2 separate regions of the Homo sapiens genome follow, and region 1 is linked to region 2. Evidence: promoter capture Hi-C in 16 types of primary human blood cells and fetal thymus (Javierre and others, 2016). All regions are on one chromosome and are shown on one strand. The core of a region is centred on a gene start or on the middle of the fragment in contact, and the rest is flanking DNA. Distances in the headings are between cores, read along the strand shown.

Region 1 (3,927 bases), core at 1,428-3,927, 510 kb before region 2:
CAGGAATTATGGTGGGTTGGGAATGACTATAAAGGGACAGCATGAGGGAGTTTTTTAAGGTGATGAAGCTATTCTCTTTCTTGATTGTGGTGGTGGTTACATGAATCTACATGATTTACAATTCATAGAATTGTACACCAAAAAAGAAGAAGCCCCATGCAATTTTATTGGAAGTTCATTTCAAAAGTAAGAAAATATTAGCTATCATATCATCATCATCATCAATAATTATACTTTACTGACTAATAAAAATATTCAGAATTATTTGTGAAATGGGATCTAAAAATCATTAAGGTCAATTTATGTCTGGTACAATAATTTAAATGTATAGAGAAAAAACAACAGCAGTAAATGTAAAAGCTTTACAACTTCTACTAACTCCTCTCTTTAATATTCTGTATCAGGATAATATGCTCCCTCTGGATCATTTCCTATAAACATTGTCATATACTGAATATGGAATTAAATAAGTGCTCAACTGGGACCCTAGGTTACATTCCTAAGTCTAACACTATAAGAAAACTCTCGACTTGCCTTTTGTGCCTAATTTTATCTTCCTCTTCATTGAGGTCATGTACTTGTCTGCACTTGTCTTTTTGTGGTATGCTGTGAAGGTTTAAAGCAAGGAGTTTCAAAGATAGGAAACAGAACAGATTCATAAACCACCCACCCTCCACCCCAAATACCAGGTACTGCTTTAAGTGATTTACATGTATTCTCTCACTTAATCCTCTTAGTAACCCTGTAACATAGCTACTATTAATATTCTCATTTTACAGATGAAGATACTGAAGCATAGAGAGGTAACTTGCCTAGCATCTCATAGCTAGTTAAGTGGGGGAGCCAGGATTTTCCCAGGCAGTCTGCCTCCAGAGCCCATGTTCTTAATCATTATGCTAAATGTCTCTCCACAAAAGGTTATTCATTTGTTCATTCATTCCTTCCTTCACCACTGCTCTGCCATGTCTATGATCCTTCTATCTCTAACAAATCATTCATCCATTCTCACGGCCTTAACATGTTATCTAAGGATAGATGATTCCCAGTTCTATATATCTAGTTCTGACCTCTCTCCTGAGCTTCACGGCTGCATTTCCAACTGTCTCCTCAACATCTGCATTTGATGATCCTGCCATTCTCACAAATTCCACATGTTTAAAATCAAACTCATCATCCTTCCTCGAAATTTCCCCATAAAGGCTTTCTTAATTTTGCCAATTGGTAAGTCACACAGCCTTGAAACCTCTGGATTATCTTTGACACATACCTCTGCATTGACCTCCCTCCTTCATTTTCAGTCAACGAGTTTTATTAGTTCTTCCATTATAAACCTACCTCTCTCCAATTTCACTGCTATCACTCTAGACCAAGTCTTCATGCCTAAATGACTGTAATATCTCCTATCCATTCTGCCTGCTTCCAGTTCTTCCTCTCTCTAATCCTATTTATTGACCACCAGATTAATAATTTTCAAATATGGCTTTTATCATGTCACTTCTGGTTCAAAAACCTTCAACCATATTGAAACTAACTGATAACTAACTCTGTATAAGTCTATACTAGTTACCAAATACAGTTCAAAATTTTTAGCTACCTTTCTAACCTTGTCTCACATCTCCTCCATAGTTAGCACACTCCCTAGTGCTCACACCATCTGTTGCAACTGAAATGTCATTACCTCTCTTTTCTAAAGAATAGGTAGTATTAAAAGAACATTTAAATCTTACCTCCTCTGAGAGGGCTTCTTCAATCACACCAATACACAGTGGCCTTTGCCTCCTCTGAACTCCAACAACACTTAACAAATGTATCTAGTATTGTCACTAAATGTTACATGTTTATCTCTCCAACCAGACTATACTTGGCACAAGGTGAGGAACCATTTCTTAAACTTCCATGCACCTTCCACAGCGTCTAGTAAAACTTATCTGTCAAACTAAATCCTTCTGGTTAAGACACATACTATTTATCTATATATTTTGTGCTAATTTGTAGTTCAGCCTAAAGACCCTTCACAATCTAGCTTCGCCTCCCCTTCCTTCCAGTGTCACCTCCTGTCATTCCCTGCCACTTCTTCTACTCCTGCCACGTTAAACTTCTCATTGTTCCTTAGACACACCAGGTTCTTTCATAATCCTGTTGCTATTTACTACCTTTAATCTCCATTCCCCTTTATTTACCTGACAAATGCCCATTGATCCATCAGGAGTTAGTATAAATGTCAACTTCTGACTCCCCCAACTAGACTTAGATGCTCTGTGTTCTGCACTACCTCAGCATTTTATTCAAATCTCTATAATAGCAGTTTCCATGTTGTCATGCAACTAACTGTGCACATATTTGTCTCTCTTATGGTATTATACATTTCTCAAAAGTAGTGACAATTTGTCTTTCCCCTATTCCCTTCACTAACTCTTCATATTTAATGCCCTGCTGTTTAATCTTTCTCTCAGTGAAAGAATATATCAAAGTCAGTGGGGATCACATACCTTGGTAATAAAGAGCCTTAAGGAAGGAGTGACGATCAGCTCCCTGAAATAAAGACTTTTCTATTTCCATTTCTCGCCGGGTCAGCTGTTTGCTCTTTGCAAATCTCTGTGGCAGGCAAAGAATGCGCTGACGCTCCGAGATCCTTTCTTCAATATCTTGAAGACGGTTCTGTATTGCTTCAGGAGTTGCCCTCAGTTTTGTCTTCTGAAACCAGAGGAATGAGATGGCATGTATCATAGAGGGCACAACCTGAACATGATGATCTGGTATCTCAAGTAAAAAGATGACCTAGGCCCAGAAATGAATGTTTACAGAAAGTGTTAGCTAAGAAGTTAAAGAACAGCTTCTCTTTTACCAATGTCTGCATTCTAAAAATCAAAGAAGATTCAGACACCAAGCTCAGTTTTGTGAGAACTAGAAATGAAAAGGCTCTCAGTGCTAAAATGAAGATATTTTGCTCTGTTTCTTTGAGGAGAAAAACCAACAAAAAAAAACATTACCCCACTCACCTTTTCACCAGAAACATGGCTCTTCCAGATCAAGATTTCTGTTTCATTAAGCCCTAATTCCCTGAGAGAAGCAGTTTCCTGGTCCTTCTCATGCAGTGTCTGGAATTGGGACAAAGTCATAGTCCCAGCTGCTTCCTTCCCAAAGGGCTTGTACATAGTACCAGGAGCAAAGCTCTCTTTCTTAGACATACATCTGCAAAACATGCAGGAGGAGAGTAAGAACATCTTGAGGTTACTATCATTCACAAAAATGGAGGTTCAGCACTGTAAGAGGTACAATGAAACTCACCAGCAAATTTTCTCTTACATCTTATTTCTAAGCTGAAGCACCACTGCAACAAAATGGAACTCCATCGAGAGTGCCGTCATCCAGGAATAATAAACTAAATCAACAAATATTTATTGAGTACTTACTATGCATCAGATACTCTGCTAGGTACTAAGGATTTAATAGCTTTATAAAAAAGATAAAAATGGCTCCTGCTTTTGTGGAAAAACAGTGGAACAGAGGCAAGTAAACAGGCAATGATAATATTGGGTTACAAGTGCTATGTTAAGGGAAATATGGGATGCTGTAGGAGGACATAAAATAGGTACTTGGCTCAGACTTAGTGAGATATGGGAGGCTTCCCAGAGGAAGAGACACAGAATTAAAACCCTACCTAATACATTGAAGTCTAACAAAGAAAGGGAGGTGGGAGAGGAACATTCCATCTAGGCTTTAAGAGAGATCTGTCACCTGGAGGTAAGAGTCTATGATACTCTCCGTTTGCAAAATCAATACCTACTCCTCAATGGAGACAGAAGTATCAAGTTGATGCTGAAGGAGGCTTTTCAGCTGCCTCTCCCCTTCTGTTTCCAGCTCCTCCAGGACATGCTCATCACTCTTCACACAGCTGTTTACCCTGGAGTAGACATAAGAATATAT
Region 2 (4,199 bases), core at 739-3,238:
GCCCAGGCTGGTCTTGAACTCCTGAGCTCAAGTGATCCGCCCACCTCGGCCACCCTGAGTGCTGGGATTACAGGCGTGAGCTACCGTGCCTGGCCGGCCTCCAATCACTCTTATCTCATTGACCTCACTTTCCTCCTTTTCTCTTATAGATACATTCCACCTCCACCACACAACACTCGTCCCGCATTGGTATTCCTCAAACAAGCGAGATACATCTGCCTTAGGGTATTTGCCCTTTCTGTTCTCTTTGCTTATCGAGATATCAACATGGCTCATTTTTTTGTTTTTTTTTTCCTCCTTCAGGTCTTTGCCCAAATGTTACCTTCCAAGACAGGTCTTCTCTGACCACCCTACTTAAAATTGTACTCCTCTCCTCTACACTCTGGCACATTATCCCACTTTCCTTGCCTGATTTTTTTTTCCACAACACTTATTGCCATTTGACATACTATGCATTTTGCTTATTTACATGTTTATTGTTTGAGAATGTAAACTCCATGACAGCAGGGTATTTTTAATTGTTTACTAATGTATTCTTGTGCCAATACACAGGGCCTAGCACATAAAGAATGTTCACTAAATATTTATTGAATGAACGAATCCCTTGGGGCAAATACTTTGTAGTCCCCTCAACGCCTTGCACACTGCCTTGCATGCAATAGAACACTCAGTAAATATTTGATGAATGGCCTATGATGGAAGACTACTAATATTCTGCCTTGCAGTTTACTTCCTTCTCCAAGTATTCCTATATACATGGGCCTACATTAAATTTCTGAGCTTGTAAAAGTGCAAAAAAGGTCAGAAGGAGAAGTCCTCCATGGACACTGCTGAAAATAGCAGTAAGACAAAGACAGGATGCTGCTTTGAGTATTTTCTGCCTTTGCCACTTAGATAAATCCCTCTCCCACCTCCATCTCAGTTTTATCATATGTAAAACGACTATATGATCTCTGAGGTCCCTTCTATTTTTACATTTGGTAGTTATGAGCACTATGGTCACTTTTGATTCCAGAATTGTATGATTTTTATCTTCTCCTAACCCATGCTTAAAATATGCTTAATGGAAACATGGTGCAAGAATAAAGGCTCACTTAGGTCCAATTAACAAGTATCGCTATAAAAATAATAAAACATGGTGTAAAAGGCCACATTAGCAACATGTAGCTGATGACATTGAGGCTTACATGAGGCAGACAGGACTAAAACCCAGGTTTTTTCAAATCCCTTCAGGGCTCTTTATCTGAAGTCCCATAGAACACTATACTTTCTTTCCTTTCCGAGGGCTATAAAAGTTAGATCTTTATTGTCCAGATAGTTTGGAAAATCCATCTTCCTTCACTTGTTTCAACATACTTGGTTCCAGCACTAGAAACAAAACAACTTTCTCTTGCAGTGTCTCTTGGATGATTCAGGTGGCATGCCTTCAGTCACTTCCCCCATGTAAACTGTCTTGCAGGCAAAGGCGACACTGCAATTACAATGGGCAAGCAAACTCCTTGCATGCACGTCTGTGATGTAAAAGTGTTTTAATTCAGCCCCATCCTTATAAAGAGATAAAAAATGTGTTCAGAAACATGCAAACTCGTGGCTGTCATCCTGATAAACAGATTTTCTTAAAGGAAACTGTAAACCAGAGCCAGACTTACTTTCCTGCGCTGAGGGAGGGGAAATAAAAAAGCAGGCATGGTTGATTTCCCGCTAGCGGGAACGATCTGGCCTCAGACGTCACCAGCATCCCTCCACCCCCAGTCCAACGTCTCCTGTCCCCAACAGCCTAGCTACAGGGGGCCGGGCTATGGGTTAGTCTCGCCCCCGTTCATGCTCTTCACCCAATACCTGAGAGAATCGGAAGGAGGCAGAGCTACACCGAGGACCAAACCCCGCCCTTCGCTCCCTCTTAGCTAATCGTTGCCAGCGGGGTGTGGACTTCGCCGCTGACCCCACCTCCGCCGCTTTGGGTAATTTAGAGCCGCGCGCCGGGCGGGAATGTAAGATGGCGGAGTAGCAACGCAAAGCGCTTGGTATTGAGTCTGTGGCCGACTTCGGTTCCGGTCTCTGCAGCAGCCGTGATCGCTTAGTGGAGTGCTTAGGGTAGTTGGCCAGGATGCCGAATATCAAAATCTTCAGCGGCAGCTCCCACCAGGACTTATCTCAGAAAATTGCTGACCGCCTGGGCCTGGAGCTAGGCAAGGTGGTGACTAAGAAATTCAGCAACCAGGAGACCTGGTAAGGACCAAGTTGGGACCCTGACTAGACCTCACCTGCCCAGGCGGCAGAGTATAGGAGGGATGGGGTCGCCGCTTGAGCTCAAACAGACTGGGGGTTGGGGGGAGAGGGTGCAGCTCTGTGACTAGCCTACCCCACGGGCTGTTTCCGTTATTTTACCTCTCGCGGGAGGGTCACGTTCATTCTTACCGTGCGGTGGGGTGGAGTCAAAAGATGGAGTGTGAGGCGAAGCTTCTGCGTTTGAGGGCAAGGGCTGGGGGACCCAATAGATAGTGGCTGCATAGAGCGACGAGAGGGGACCGACGCTTAGCCAGGGCGGTAGGGACACGTGGCTTGGCTTTGCTGTTGAGCCACCCAGGCTGGACTGGGTTGCTTCAGCTCTTAGACTAGCTTGCATTTAGAGAGCCTACCTGCGTACTGAGCTCTCCTGGTCTTTCTTTTCCTAGAGTCCAATAAGCAGCTTTTTGATTCGAAATGGTGTTGGTCCGTTCGGCTTGGTGTTGAGGGAAACTGACATTATATACTGCAGGCGCCAAAATTATTACGACTTCCCTTAGATCAGCAAGCGTTGGCTTTTCTCATCTTATGAATCATCTACCTGAGTAATTGGAGCCATAAATCTAGTTGATTTGTTAAAGTGATGCGTTGACTCTGCATCCTTGATAGCCAGCATCTCAGCTTGAGCCATCCAAAAAATCTTGGAAATCTCAATTCTGGAATGTTTGACCTTCCCCAGTGCAGCTAGTGGTACAGATAATGCAAAAGCGTATTTTTCAGTAACCGAGTCCATCCTGGACTTGGCTCCTTCTTTAAGCTCTGTGTAGGGAATTTAGGAAACAATTTTATACCTGAATGTTAAAGATAATTGAGGACAGGCAATGTAGTGGAAGACTAGGATTGGACAGTGCATTGCAACTTGCGTTTTTTCCATTGCCTTGCCAGTAAAACTTGCTTCCTCGACTCCGACTTACACCCTCTACCGGCACCATGGGACTGTTTTAGAGATGACTTGGTTACCTGATTATTTCAGTGCCCCTTCCACCTAAGTGTGGGATCTTTAGTTTCTGATAGGTGTAATTTGTATTTTATTGTTACCCTATCGATTAAATCAGAGCCCTGCCCACAATCTTACAGATTTGTTAAGGGGAAAGTTTTCACCTAATAATCAGATAAGAATATTTCGAATATTTTTTCCTAAATGTTTTTGCTTACTTTTTTGCTTTCTTTGGACTGATTTCCAAGTTTAACTCGCCTTATCTCTTTTAGACCCAGCTGATAAAGTAATGTCACCGATAATGGACAGCTTCTTCCCGAATTATTGTGCTACTGATTGTGATGCAAATGATAGTGTAAACATTGCCATCTGTAACCAGGCAATACCTTAGTTAAAAGAGGCTTACAAACTGCTGTCTTTAGATTTTTCCAAACCATTATGGCTCATGGGCCTTAATAAAGAATACAAAACAGGACTAGACTTTGTGATTGGCAATATAGTTAGGGGACAAGAATGTTTTTCATTTAGAGGTTTTCTTTGGCCCCTGTGGATATTTAATCCTTTTCCTATGCGTCTAGGAAAAATGTGAAGGCATGAAAGCTTTATTTTCTCCTTGTGTTAATCCTTCTGCCCTCTGCATAATGCAGCACCCCAGAACCTGAGGCTATATTGGGAGAGGAGAGGGGGAGGACAACTTAGTTTTCTACTGATTGATTTCTATTAAGTCCAACATGGATAATTGCTGACTGGTTAGATTTTCTTGTTTCTGGCTTAATCATTAGCTTCTTGTTTCCTAGATATTCTGAAATCTTCATTGAACATAATCACATTTTTTTTTATGGAGTTCCCCCTATCTTTGTTTTTCCTATACTGAAGAAATGGTAACTGCTCCCTATAACTGCTCCCCCAGGTGACTCTTGGTTGATGCTCTCTTGAGCAGAGTAGCTTTTCTTCTAACATAAGGATCATCCTTGGC

What was found. The method cuts DNA at HindIII sites, captures the fragments that hold promoters and counts their contacts. A CHiCAGO score of 5 or more calls a contact.
Region 1: a fragment that was not itself captured here is called in contact with the fragment with the promoter of PRPS1 in region 2 in 1 of 17 cell types (fetal thymus); the score reaches 7.4 in fetal thymus.

The regions. Positions count from the first base shown.
Region 1 is chrX:107,112,863-107,116,789 of GRCh38, forward strand. It overlaps RBM41 (RNA binding motif protein 41), which reads right to left. Exons shown (of 8, transcript NM_001324242.2): 2 at 3,788-3,904; 3 at 3,000-3,192; 4 at 2,490-2,694; 5 at 535-606. Among named protein-coding and RNA genes, the nearest start is that of RBM41, 4.0 kb to the right of the region's middle. The HindIII fragment of the contact is 4,639 bases long and covers 359-3,927 here.
Region 2 is chrX:107,626,522-107,630,720 of GRCh38, forward strand. PRPS1 (phosphoribosyl pyrophosphate synthetase 1) reads left to right here and starts at 1,989. Exons shown (of 7, transcript NM_002764.4): 1 at 1,989-2,229. The coding sequence starts at 2,108. RefSeq lists a silencer at 1,827-1,876. The HindIII fragment of the contact is 4,384 bases long and covers 1-2,458 here.